2 separate regions of the Homo sapiens genome follow, and region 2 is linked to region 1. Evidence: promoter capture Hi-C in 16 types of primary human blood cells and fetal thymus (Javierre and others, 2016). All regions are on one chromosome and are shown on one strand. The core of a region is centred on a gene start or on the middle of the fragment in contact, and the rest is flanking DNA. Distances in the headings are between cores, read along the strand shown. Region 1 holds the start of HERC1 (HECT and RLD domain containing E3 ubiquitin protein ligase family member 1). Region 2 overlaps DAPK2 (death associated protein kinase 2).

Region 1 (7,120 bases), core at 2,972-5,471:
AAGTAGTCGACTCCAGGACTGGTGCAAGGAAAAATAAGATGAGCATGGAACAGCCTGTGGCCCCAGAATATAAGAAAGTGCTTGAAAAAGGGTAGAGGCCAACCTGAAAGAGCTTCCAATGGCCAAAGCTGGAACAATTTGAACAACAAAATAAATAATGATAGTATTGGATTATAATCCATAGAAAATAGAGATCCCATAAGAACACACTAATATAAACAAATAATTGAATAAATAAGTGAGGGAAAGGGGACATCTCTCCCTTAAAGAATTCCAATTAATAAATGCAGAAGGAATGAGGGAAATACAAAATCATGATTAGCCAAACACCACAGTAATAACTGTTGCAGACAAGATCTACCAATGGATGTTAAAAATCAATGGGAGAAAGTTTGAGGAGAAACTGTACATCCACAGTCTCAAAGTGTCTCCCCCAAGATATGTATGAACAATAAAGGGAAGAATAGTAACTTTACTGTGAAGAATACCGCTAAGGGTTCAAAGTTAAAATACCACTAGCAAAAAGACATGTCAACACCATGTACCCCCAATATGATGCATTGAGAAGGACACAACATCGCTTCTGTAGTTTTCTTGCAAAACATGCTTAACCTCAATCAAATCATGAGAAAAAACATCAGACAAACCCAAAATGAAAGAAGTTCTAAAAAATAACAGTACTCATCAAAAATGTCAAGGTCGTGAAAAACAAAAACTGAGGAACTGTCAGAGATTGGAGGAAATGAAGAAGACACAACAACTAAATGCAACGTGGGAACCTAGATTAGACCCTAGAACAAAAAAAAAGGCATTAATGGGGAAAAACCAGTGAAATTAAGTAAAATCTATAGTCAATAGAGTTACACCAATGCTAACTTCTGGTTTTGATCACTGTATTATGGTTATGTAAGTTGTTAACATTAGGGGGAGCTTGGTGAAGAGTATGTAAGAACTCTGTACTCTCTCTGTAACTTTTCTGTAAGTCTAACATTATTTCTAAATAAATCATTAAAAATAAATAAAATCCATCAACCAATCATCTGATACAACTGTCATATCTTCTTGCTCAAGGATCTCATCTGAAATTTAACAGTCCCATTAATTTAGAGAGCCCGGTAGGCAACATCAGAACAAACTAAAATCATGAAAATCGGATCTGGCATCTAGTAAGTAAACAACTACTTTATGCTCTTTTTCACTTTTTGTAGTTAAAGAAAATGCTAGCAGATGTGACCTTCCTGGCTTTGCAAACTTCTCTGTAAATGATTTGACCAACTTTTTATGTTTTCAACATCATGATAATCTGCAATACATGCTCACAACAATGTATTTCATGTGTATGTTAAGCCAAAGTTGTGTAGACCTTTGTTGTTGTTTGTTTTGTTTTATTTTGCTTTTGAGATAGAGTCTCACTGTGTCTCCCAGGCTGGAGTAGAGTGGTGCAATCACAGCTCACTGCAGCCTCAATCTCCCAGGCTCAATTGATCCTCCCATCTCAGCCTCCCTAATAGCAGGAATTGCAGGTATGCACCACCACGTCCAGCAAATTTTTGTATTTACCATAGAGACAAGGTTTCACCATGTTGCCCAGACTGATCTTAAACTCCTGGGCTCAAGCCATCCTCCCACCTCGGCCTCCCCAAGGGCTGAGATTACAGGCGTGAGCTACTGTAATCTGGCCAAAAGTTCTATTTACAATTTTTAAAAATAGCTTCAACAGATTATAGTAAGTTTGTTACTTGCTATTATATAGTTATCCAACTATAACATTCAAGTTTTGTTTCACAAGTTTCTTTTTATCCTAACACAACCTTCTCACTCTCCAAGCCACGATGTCATCATTATCATCATTTTAAGATCTGAAAATCTGAATTTTAAAAATTTTAAAAGGTCAGCTCCTTCAATATACCCAGCCCCCTTTTTTTTCTATTTCAAATATTAGGGAGTATTCAGTATGACTTTTTTGGGGGAAAACATGCTTGGAACGTTGGAATTGTTATTACTATTTATTATTTGCACCCTCTACTAACCCAATCCAGTCCAATCACCAACACATTCTCCAAAATTTCTTTAAATTGAGATTTTCAAGAGATGTTTATATTAATAAGCAGATTAAGTGACGCATTTACATTTGCTTTCTCTTCCATGCAACATCAGGGTGCCTGCATTGGAAATGGAATACATGACCAGCAAATGAATGGATGTGTCACATGCAAACAGCATGACTGGAAATTTAAGAAGCAAAATGATAAGAACCTTAGGGAACGCAAAATTCATAAAAGTTTAGAATTACAAGAGGCCTTAATAGGCCATTTAATCCATTCCAATAACAACAACCCCAGATGACAATCTATCCTATTTTTAAAAGGCTCCAGATTTCCAACCTCCCTAGATATCTCATTCTGCCATACAACCTTGTCATGTGATTTGGGGGAAATATTATGACTGTTCTTTGCCCTTCCTAATGCTATCTTTTCTCAAATAATATAGCAATACATCTTAACTCACTTCCAAGATATATAAATGTGTATAGGTGCAGAATACGTGTGTGTGTGTGTGTGTCTCTATACATATATACGTACATTTATGCATAAGACAGGCACCTAGGACATTCAATTTTGCTTGTATAAACGCAGGCTATGGAAACACATATATCAAAGAGACATACTCATCCCACACTAATCACAACAGGCACTATGAAACAATGTCACAGAACAATTTTGGTCTAAAAATATCCAGTAGAAATCAATTTCATAAAACCTGAGGTAAATAGGTTTCTTCCCACTATGAATAATCATAGTTTCTTTCCCTTCTACAAATACTGCCCCATTTTGAGCAACCACCACTAACAGAATTGTAAAAATATAATATATACATAGGTACTAGACCCAAACAGACAATGTTTTAACGTTTGATTTTTCAAACCACTTAGCTAACAATCATTTTGGAAAAGGGCCCAGTGAAAAAGATAGTGATGGCAGAGTTCAGCCAGTGATAATGAACTAGCAGCCAGTTTTAATCAAGCAGGCCAGAGAACTGATTCAAATAAAATAAATCATTTTTGGAACAAATATAGAATGAGGAAGTCCCAAGCAAGGATAAAAAAAAATGTGTCTGTTAGGAAATACAATAAAATGTTAACCATGAAATGCCACCTCTGGAGATGGAATTACAAAGATGGGTTAGTTTGTTCAGATTTGTTATTCCCATCATTTAATTATCTCTATATTCTAAGTATTATAGACATTTCTTAAACTAAGACAAATCTGTCCCTGTGTTTCACAGCTCTCTAAGATAACATGTCTTTTACATAACCTCCTGGGAGAGGTGGTACAAGCTCCTGTCCTCCTCGTGTCTCCCAGTAACCTGCCACCCATCACAGAACAGATTTCACCATGTTCCCCGGGGTAGCTCCTGTCATCACCATCATCATCCTCATCTCACGCTTAAGACTAAACAATGCGCCCCGCCTCGCCTCCCGGTTGCAAAGGCTTTATAATTTGTTGTTTTATTGGGGCGGGAGATTTGGAGAAAGGTTTAGCAGATGATGAGCTGCCCTCACCCAAAGGCAGAGGAGAGGAGGAAGACACGTCGTCCCAGCCTCCACCCCGCTAAAGGCGGCCGGCGCCTGGGGACACCGGGGTCGCGGCACTCCCCGGACCCTGAGAGGGAGTCGGCCGCCGCCCGCGGACCGAGCCCCAGCCGGGGCAGAGGAGCTGGTCAGCAGATAAAGGAATGAAGCAGAAAGAGACGCGACCACAGCGGGGCCGGGGCACAGACGTTGTAAGCCGCTGGAGGGGCGGGTCTCTCGGCCCTCTCCGCGGGCGCCTCGGCTTCTACGCTGCTCCGAGGCGCCCGGGCGGCAGGAGGCCTCTAGAGCCGGGGACCCGGGGGATCCGCGGCGCGCCAGGAGGGCTCCCCCAGCTCGCCTGCCGCCCACCCGGGACCCCAGCAGCCCCGCTCGGCTGCAGTCCCGAAACGGCCCCGGCCGGCCCTGCGCGGCCGGCAAAGCACACACGCGCGCGCGCACACACACACACACACACACACACACACACACACACAGGACCAGGAGGACGGTAGATGATGCGTTACCGTACGTGGCTCTGGAGCTGGCGGGGTGGGGCGCGGCTCCGGCGACCCGAGCCCGGCTCCGCAGAGGCTGCGGCGGTCGCGTCCTTTATTTTTGCTGCAGCAGCAGCGACTTGTCAAAGGGAAAGACGTAAGAGGCGGCGGCAGCAGCGGCGGCGTCAGGCGAGTCTCACGAGATTTGGGCGGAACTCTCGCGCAGCCGGGAGCCCTCGCCCCGCCCAACAGGCCCAGCGCGGGAGGTGAAAGGGGAACCGAGAGGAAGGCGGCTGAGGTGGAGTTGGGGGTTGAGCGAAAAGGGGAAAGGGATTTGGGAGCGAGGGGAGCCAAGCTAGGTGCTGGGGACACTTTGCTACCGCGCGGCCCTCACCCTTCAGCCGTCGCGGAATCCGGGCAGCCCCGACCGCCTGCGGGGACCTGACTCCACAGATGAAGCACAATTGGGGGCGTTTCACAAAGGGTGGTGAGGAGTGGGGGGCCATGCAGTGCGCCCCCTTTTCCTCGTGGTGGGCAGGGAAGACCCCGCCGCCAGGCGAAGGGACACGTGTTACGGCCGGCGGCAGGGCCAGGGCCTCACCCCTTTATCTCCGCCTCGCACCCGGCGCCCCACGCTCTTTATCTCTCATCGCAGCGGCCCCGGCCCTCCGGCCGGCTAAGTTCAATCACATAAAAGCGTTTCACTTGACCTACTCTTCCACCTTGTTCATGTCTTTGCGCCTTATGGGACTGCCAGAACCCTGCAGATGCCAGGGCCTGGCTCCTCGGTTTTCTTTTCTGCTTGGGAACACAGTAGTGTCCTTTGGGTGACTTACATCCTTGATCATGACCTCGACCTCCACGTGAAACCCCATGAGGGGAAGGACACAGACTGGCTCAGTCCTCACCATATCTCCAGCGCCTAACATAGGTCCAAGTGGACATTAAATTGTTGAGTGAATACCCCATCTCCATCTTCCTCCTTCTGTACCTGGTTTTACTCCTTTCCAGCCACCTTCATGGTGTCTTTCCTTCCAGATATTCTAACGAGCATCAATTAAACTGACCGATGACTTGGGGACAAAAAATAGAGTTGGCCTCTGCGTTCCAGAAGTTTGCAATCCAATTGGAGGCGTAGGAGAAGCACACAAACATACAAGCCATGAATGTGTCACTAATGTAAGAAATTACGGTATAGACAGACGAGGGAGTGCTTTCCCATGGTTAAATTAGATACATGTTTGTGTGTCACATGAGGCAGTTTAGTCCAAGAGTTAGGAGCCATGTGCTTCACTGTCAGACACTGGTGGGAATTCTGGAATCCCACTTACCCCAGGTGTGTGACCTTGGGCAAGTTGCTTGACCTCTCTGAACCTCAGTTCCTTATGTGTCAATTTATAATGCCAGTTCTTGTTATCACAAGGTTCCTCTGAGGAGTAAAATATATGTAAAGCTCACATACGGCACATATTAAGTACTCATTAAATGATGGGTCTTAGGTGTGTAGCTTTTAAGTTTCTATGTATAAAATGTGTATTTCTGGTAAATGATGTAAGGGAGTAGCTACATGAGGAGTGATGTCATTGTTGCTAGTGCTTTATGATCTGGGTATTGTGTGTGAAGCATACTCAAAAACAACAAGCAAAAGCTCCTCCTTTTAACTTGTTGATGTCATCTACGTCACTCACAAATATGATATTCTGTCTTTCTTGAATTTGTAAAATTGTACTGGTTTTGCCCACTTTTTCTTTTTCTTTTTTTTGAGATGGAGTTTTGCTCTTGTTGCCCAGGCTAGAGTGCAATGGCACCATCTTGGCTCACTGCAACCTCCGCCTCCCAGGTTTAAGCGATTCTCCTGCCTCAGCCTCCCAAGTAGGTGGGATTACAGGTGTGTGCCACCATGCCTGGCTAATTTTTGTATTTTTAGTAGAGATGGGGTTCCACCATATTGGCCAGGCTGGTCTCGAACTCCTGACCTTGTGATCCGACCGCCTTGGCCTCCCAAAGTGCTGGGATTACAGGGGTGAGCCACCGTGCCCAGCCTGGTTTTGCCCATTCTATTTCAAGAAAAGGACTGCTTACTTTAAAGACCAATCAAGAGACTCCCTCTTTTACCATCTCCTTAGCTTCCACCCTCAGAGCTGTGTGTAAAAGAGAATTGAATACAACTGTGTTCAGTTGCATACAATTAGCAAATACTGTTAGTGTCAGCAAGTGAGCCCTGACTACTAGCCACCCTCACCTTGACCACACCACTCTTTCCCAAAACACTGTTTTTTTCTTTCTTTCTTTTTTCTTTTTGAGGTGGAGTCTCACTCTGCTGCTTAGGCTAGAGTGCAGTGGCGTGATCTTGGCTCACTTCAACCTCTGTCTCCCGGGTTCAAGCGATCCTCCTGCCTCAGTCTTCCTAGTAGCTGGGATTACAGGTGTGCTGCACCATGCCCGGCTAATTTTTTTATATTTTAGTAGAGACAGGGTTTCACCATGTTGCCCAGGCTGCTCTCGAACTCCTGACCTCAAATGATCTGCCTGCCTCGGCCTCCCAAAGTGCTGGGATTACAGGCGTGAGCCACCGCACCATGCTTAAAACACTGTTTCATACTCAAATCAGCATATCCTGGAACCTTGTTGTCAGCATTAACCTCCCAACTCTACCAGTTCATTTTATTCAGATTTCCCTAAAGAAAAATGTTGGAGATGGGAAGAGTGGATGGAGGGATCTCAGAGCCACAGCCAAGTCCTAAGCATCACAAGCCCTTGGTCTGATAGCCCTCTGAGCAGCATACCCTGGCCATACCAGTCAGCCACATCTTCCTCCCCTCACGTATGTCACCCCCACTTCATGCCTCATACTTCACAGCACCACACCACAGCTGGGAGGTCCCAGGCAAAGGAACTGGAGAATCAACAGTAGAATATATATTTTTCATCTTTCATCTGCATTTAGGAAATGTGCAACTCCTAGATAAAAATCAGGGCTAAGTTTGAAGTGAAGAAATCCAGCAGAGCAGTAAAGTGTGGAGGCAGAGCAGCAGGGGTAAACAGACACTGGGAG
Region 2 (7,120 bases), core at 3,197-5,696, 150 kb after region 1:
TTTTTTTTTTCCGAGATGGAGTCTTGCTGTCACCCAGGCTGGAGTGCAGTGATGCAATCTCGGCTTACTGCAACCTCCGCCTCCCGGGTTCAAGCAATTCTACTGCTTCAGCCTCCCGAGTAGCTGGGATTACAGACACCTGCCACCACACCCGGCTAATTTTTGTATTTTCAGTAGAGATGGGGTTTCACCATGTTAGCCAGGCTGGTCTCAAACTCCGACCTTGTGATCTGCCCGCCTTGGCCTCCCAAAGTGCTAGGATTACAGGCATGAGCCACTGCACCAGGCCAGAACATTCTTTATATAGTCCTTGCTGCTTGACTGGACACAGCCACTGTAACTTGTCCACAACCCAACTCAAACTCTATTGTTTATCAGAGCCCCACCTGCCCAGGACGATACCAGCGTGGCTAGCCAAACCCTAGAGTATTGAGGTCATCTATCCAAATTCCATCATGAACTGTGAGGTCTTCCTCTGCTAAGCCAGCATAAGGCCAACCCGCCTCACACTCATAGCTGTCTGCACAGGCCGTGTGGACTCAAGTCCTGGTCCTGCCACTTCCTGGCTATAGGCTCCTGTAAGTGTCCTGGCCTCTCAGTGTTCTTGTCTGTAAAATGGGGATAATAAGAGTGTCTGTGTGACAGCGTTGTTATGAGGATTAAATAAGGTACAGAAGTACTTGGCTTGCACAATGAATACAAAATAACCTGTCTGCACTAGTAAGACATTTCCCTCATCACAGTCTTTAAAGATTGAACAAGACGACAGATAGAAAGCGCCTAGCAAATTCTTGGCTTACAGTAGGACTCTCTAAATAATAGCTATTATTATAACAATAAAGGTGTCATTCACAGCACAAATGCAGTGGACTTTCCCCAGGAAAGGGCTGGAGAAGGGCTTCGCAGAGCCCAGAGATGTTTGTACTTCCCCTCCTCATAGTACACAGCCCTCGCTGACAGCCTCCCCTGGCCCCACCCCACCATCTGTCCCACTCACCCTCCCACATGCTTCTCCAGCCAGGAAAAGACCCCAGTGCAGTCATTTCTTCCCTTTGATCTCCAGGATCCAGTGAAAGCCAGACTTAGGCCATTGCCCTCTGCCCCTGCTATTCAGCAAGCTTGCCCCTCCTTTGGCTCAGTTTCAGGAGGAGGAAGCGGGTAAGGAGGAAGGGGGTAACTGAGACAGAGGGGATCTGCCCACCACTGACTTCACCTCCTCTGGGCTGAGCTTAGGCCTGGTTGCTGCTGCCCCCTGGGGCCTGTGGCTGGAGTTTCCACTGCTCTGCCTGCCCCTGCTGCCCCCCAACCCTGTGGGTCCTGGGGACCCCACTCACAGCTCAAGGATGAGCACCACGTCGGTGCGGTTCTCATAGACGTCGTGCAGCGTGATGACATTGTGGTGCAGCACCTGCCGCAGGATGCTCACCTCCCGCTCGATCTCCTCCCGGCTCACACCGCGCCGGCTCGCCCGGCTCTGCCGCTTCTTGATGAACTTGGCTGCATACTCAAGCCCCGTGCTCTTCTCCCGGCACTTCTTCACGATGGCAAACTGGCCACTGTGGGGACACAGACCCACAAGATTAGGTCATCACTGTGGTCATTGGGGAAATGACCCCACTGTCAGCTACCAGGTCACACAAATTCAGAGTGATTCTGCCAGGACAGGACAAATCATGCCACCAGTCTGCATCCCCACCTGATGACAACCTGTGGATGAGATGGGGCAGGGACTGGGCTTCCCTTCTGTCCATTCCTTCTATGAGGAATGAATGTTAGTATTCTTAGTCCCAGTGTACAGAGGTGAGCACTGAGGCCCAGAAAGGTTATTGATCAGGATGACATAGCCTTGTCATTGCAAAATCTCAGCTAGAACCCAAGTCTAGGACCCACCAGATGAAATCACAATGTCCATAAGCAGACTGGGCTGGTGGGGATCCAGGTTTGGGTAGAGTTTGGAGAGGAGGCAGCCTAACAAGGTTAATCATCATAGTGGGGGAGCATCACAGTCAGAGGACTTGGTATAAACAGAGAGTTGTACAATTAGGAAACTGAGGCATAAGGATAGGTCATGTGACTCGCCTGAGGTCATCGCAGAGTTAATGGCAAAGCCAAGCCTCAAAGTCAGATACCCAACCGGCTGTCCACAAAGCCTCTGAGATAGTTAGAGCAGTCTAGACCATTATTATTCCCCTTCAGGCACTAGTACCCAGGGCTGGGCTCAGAAACCCATTACTCCAGGGACAGAGACAGCAAGCATGAAATGGAGTCCATGGCAGAGTGGCAGGCAGCCCTGAGCCAGCTTCCCTGAGTGCTCCAGGGGCCCTCCCCACAGGGAAGGGCACCAACCACCTGCTTCTGCACCTCAGTTCAGTGACCAGCAGGAGCAGATCTAAGTCCTCAGAGACTTCCCAGTGACCATCTTGCCCGGGGGTCCTCCCGTCCCCTTACTGCCATTTGCCATCATTGCCCCATGTTTTCTTGCCACCCAAAATACCCACTGCTTGAGTAACTCAGAAAGTTTTCTGGTTCAGCTTAATGGCTCAATAAGGGGCCAGCAGACTCCAGACTTAAGAGGTACACTCTTAGTGGCTCTGGGTTAAAAGCTACATACAGGGAAATGCCTGGGATATTTGCCCCAAATGCAGAAAATAGCAAAATAGCACTGCATCTGAACCACTCCATCATTAGCATCATCCTCAGTGAGACAGTCTTCAAAATACCCGGAGTGGCAATAACAACAACAAAGTCAAGTTCAGCAAGCAACAGATACATAGGCCAACACTTAGGTAGCATTCTATGGCAGCCACTTCAGAGACGTTCCCAAACACAAACTCATGCATCTCTCCATTGCCTTAATCTCCATTCAATCAACACTGTCTGGGCATCCAGTCTGTGCCAGGATCTGTGCTAGGCACTACGGGGCAGGGACCAAAGGCACAGACAACAGGTACAGATGGAGCTCTAGGGAAAGAGAAGATCCTGGGGGCTGGACTGGGCAGAGAAGGCTTTGTGGAGCCAAATTTATCTTACATCGTCCACTGACTCTAAATTTTTAGCTATTTCAGTTCCAAATATTGGCTCTGAGCTGTGCACACACTAAGGGCTGACGCAGGTGGAGTGGAGCCAGGCCTCCCAGAGCCAGAGTGAACACATTCAGTGTGAACTCTAACACATATGGTCTCTTGGAGCCACTCTGGGCCTCGAGGACAGCGGGTGCCTTGGTAGGTGCCAACAAACACTTGACCGAGCTTCCAGGCCCGGGTGGCTCTGAGTCTCAGTGTCAAGGCAGCCACACGCCTCTCCTCTCCGACACCTCAAGCAGCCGCTGGCAGGGCCTGGCATTTCAGAGTCCCTGTGACCTTGTCACAGAAGCCCTGAGTTCCTACTTGACCTGTGGGGAAAGCAAAGCTTAAGGGTGGTAAGGGATACACTTAGGTTTACAGAGCACATAGGCAGTGGCGCAGGGCTTGGCTTGGCATCCAAATCCCCCAGCTCCCAGCCCTGCACTGTGTTGACAGCCTTAGGACTTGTGAAACGGCAGAAGGGCTTTTGTAAACTAGAGCTAAACATTTCAGGCCATGTTGACGTTGTTTCCCCTTCCTCTTATGAGGGAAACAGTGGCATTTTTTTTCTATATCACATGCCTGAAAAATTCCTCAAACTCTCAAAAAGCAAATGAGTGTTTGCTTTTCCTGCCTGAGTTTTCTCTTTGCGAGACAGCTGTGGCAATGAGTGGTGACCGGGGCAGGCCCACTGCACAGGCATCTTTCCCTCCCCAAAAGGAGGTATTTTGAGAGTGGGTGACTACGATGGCGCCAAATACCACACACCACCACTCGTCTCACCTGTCTTCACTCAGGCACAGCCCTCTGCTCAACCTGTAGAGGGGAGCCTCAGAGGGAGCCAAGGCTGCTGGCTGGTGTCCCCCACTCCTTGGGCTGTTTCCAGAAGAGCAGAGAACACCCTCCACCAGACCCAGCCCCCAGGCTTCAAGATCAGACAGGCCTGGCCTCAGAGACTTATGCTTTCACCTGCTCTGAACATAGATTTGCTCATCTGTCAAATGGGAATCAGGGTTCCCTGCTAGAGAATTGTGAAGACTGGAAATATTTGTAATGTTGGCCCGTGGTACTCAAAAGTGGTTCATGTGAAGGCTGAGCAAGAGACATCCAGAGACATAAGTCACTGATTCAAATGGTCTGGAATGTGAAACCAAGGAATTGGTTTAATTTTATTTATTTTTAGAGATGGGGTCTGGCTCTGCTGCCCCGGCTGGAGGGCAGTGGTGTGATCATAACTCACTGCAGCCTCAAACTCCTGGGCTCAAGCAATCCTCCCAACCTCAGCCTCCCGAGTAGCTGGGACCACAGGTGCCTGCCACACCACCCAGCTTCAGTTTAATTTTAAAAGCACCACCCTACCCCGCCAATGATTCCCACGCACAGCCAGATGTGAAAATAGCTCTATTCCGAGCAAGTAGCCAACTCTTTAAATCCTAGAGCAGTGGTTCTCAACCCAGGCCACACATTGATATTGCCTGGGGAATTTTAAAACTCCTAGTGTTTAAGTCTCACCCTGAGAGATTCTGATCTCCTGGGTCTGGGCCTGAAGATGGGGCTATTTAAAAGCCCGCTGGGTAACTGACATGCAGCCAGGGCTGACTTACAACAGCTTTCTGATTATCTCCATTTCACAAATGAAGAAACTATACCACTGTTACTCATACTAGTTCCTCATTTTCAGTATTACACTTCCCCATAGTTCTCTGATCTGATCATTTCAGGAAAGGAGTAAAGAAAGGGAATCAGAGGGGAGGGGTTGTCTCTCCCATCAGCATGATTTTTGCTTGAGGGGTTCACCAGTCTAACTGCTGTGTTATGAATATGCAAATCAAGGCAGAAGATTACTCTAGCTTTCGGAGGATAACAGGAGTGAAAATTTGCAGTCAGGCACTCCCTGGCCACTGTACTCAGCAGATGCACAAAAGCAGAACCTGAGGTGGCTCTAGTATGCCCATCAGAGGGCCCAGCCAACCCAAGGGCAGGTGACAGCAACAGGCCTTTTTCTGCACACAGAAGGCTCTGCAGCCAGAAGTTGAGGTCCCACAGTGCAGAAGTCGCCAGCTAGGCTACAGGGATGATGGGTGGGAGGCGAGGGTCTGTCTACTTTAGGACAGAGCCACCCAGAATGTCATCCAGGGAGGGAGCAGAAGGGAGCAATTCAACCTCTAATGAAAGTCATTGCTAACACTAAATCAAAAATGATGGGAATACTGGAATCTGGTATACATATGCAAAGCACACATATTCCAGTATCTCTGCCCCCCATAGCAACAATCAATACCTATGCATGGTCTACTGCAGCACGGGGCTGGTAGGAGGCCCGATTCCTCGTCCTAATCTGCTATCAAAGTTTCATGGGCTTGACAGGGAGCTGCCTTTTCAGTTCATGTTTCTCCATCTGCCATCCCAGGTCTCATCTTAGAAAGCTTCCTGTCAGACAGCTCCAAAGAGCCTGGGACAACTCTAAACAGGAATGAAGCCCTTTCTCTTCACTCTCCAAATTCCTAACTCTGGGCTGGTGTCAGGAGACTGGGAGTCTAGTCAGAGCCCTACCACTAACGAGCCAGGACCCTGGGCAGCCTGTTCAACTCCCCAGGCCTCAGTTTCCTTCTTTGTCACATGGGGATGATAATACCTGCCCTGCCCACTTCCCAGGGTTGTTTGGGAAATCATGAGGTAATGTCTGAGATAGGACTTTACCATCCAGCCTTGCAGAAGAGCATGAGGTGTGGGTGGGTGGGAACTCTGTGCCTGAGACTGGCTTGCAAAAGTCACGTAGGATGGTTTCGTGAGGGACAGTAAATCCTCAAGATACAGAAAACACCCCGCTTCTGCCAGCACACTCTCCTGCAATTCTGTCAGGAACACACCCCTCTTCCCAGGCAGAGGACTCAGCTCCTCACTCACTCAGCACCTGGGAGGACAAGTGGGCTGTGTCAAGATCAGTGTCACTGGCAGATGGGCCTCATTTCCAAACTTGTCAGGCCCCCAGGTGCCACCTCATAAGGGCTCTCTAGTTGTCTGCCCAGGACTCACATTAAAAGGGGTATACCTAGAACAGCTTCTCAGTGCTCAGAAATGTCCCCAACCTCAGCTCTTAAGGTTCATGGAGGAGCCTGGCTTAATCCCCACCCCCCAAAGTCTTCACTGTCAAGGGTAAATAAACAGGGCATGAACCAAATGTCACACCACGGGATCAATTTTGTATAGCAATGTGAACATTACAACATTTACATCCAGCTTTTCCTTTTTTTTTTTTTTTGAGCTGGAGTCTCGCTCTGTTGCCCAGGATGGAGTACGGTGGCGCAATCTCGGCTCACTGCAAGCTCCACCTCCTGGGTTTAAGTGATTCTCCTGCCTCAGCCTCCTGAGTAGCTTGGATTACAGGCACCGCGACCATGGATGGCTAATTTTTTTCTATTTTTAGTAGAGACGGGATTTCACCATGTTGGCCAGGCTGGTCTTGAACTCCTGACCTCAAGTGATCTGCCTGCCTCAGCCTCCCAAAGTGCTGGGATTACAGGCATGAGCCACCGCGCCCGGCCAGCTTTTTTCTTAATGAGCTAACTTCATATTCATTCTCTTTTTCAATATTTGCAAGTATCATTTTTAGTTCCATTTCACAGATAAGAAAACTGGAGAGGTATGGTGGCTCACACCTGTCATCCCAGTGCTTTGGGAGGCTGAGGCAGGGGGATCACTTGAGGCCTGGAGTATGAGACCAGCCTAGCCAATATGGTGAAACCCTGTCTCTACTAAAAATACAAAAATTAGCCAGGCATGGTGGTGCAAGCCTGTAATCCCAGCTACTTGGGAGGCTGAGGTATGAAAATCACTTGAACTCAGGAGGCAGAGGTACCAGTGAGCCGAGATCATGCCACTGCACTGCTGCACTGCAGCCTGGGTGACAGGGTGAGACTTTGTCTCCAAAAAAAAAAAAAAAAAAAAAAGCCAGGCAAGGTGGCACAACCTGCAGTCCCAGCTACTCAGGATGCTGAGGTGGGAGGATGGTTTTCAGCCCAGGAGTTTGAGGCTACAGTGAGCTATGATCATACCAC

What was found. Contacts are between HindIII fragments. The CHiCAGO score rates a contact against its expected background, and 5 or more counts as called.
Region 2: a fragment that was not itself captured here is called in contact with the fragment with the promoter of HERC1 in region 1 in 5 of 17 cell types (naive B cells, megakaryocytes, erythroblasts and 2 more); the score reaches 6.4 in naive B cells.

The regions. Positions count from the first base shown.
Region 1 is chr15:63,829,727-63,836,846 of GRCh38, forward strand. It overlaps HERC1 (HECT and RLD domain containing E3 ubiquitin protein ligase family member 1), which reads right to left and starts at 4,222. Exons shown (of 78, transcript NM_003922.4): 1 at 4,101-4,222. RefSeq lists enhancers at 3,378-4,243, 4,244-5,107, 4,281-4,410 and a silencer at 3,611-4,040. The HindIII fragment of the contact is 17,710 bases long and covers 1-7,120 here.
Region 2 is chr15:63,982,199-63,989,318 of GRCh38, forward strand. DAPK2 (death associated protein kinase 2) reads right to left here. Exons shown (of 12, transcript NM_014326.5): 3 at 1,335-1,556. Among named protein-coding and RNA genes, the nearest start is that of DAPK2, 61 kb to the right of the region's middle. RefSeq lists an enhancer at 3,242-3,743. The HindIII fragment of the contact is 2,080 bases long and covers 3,407-5,486 here.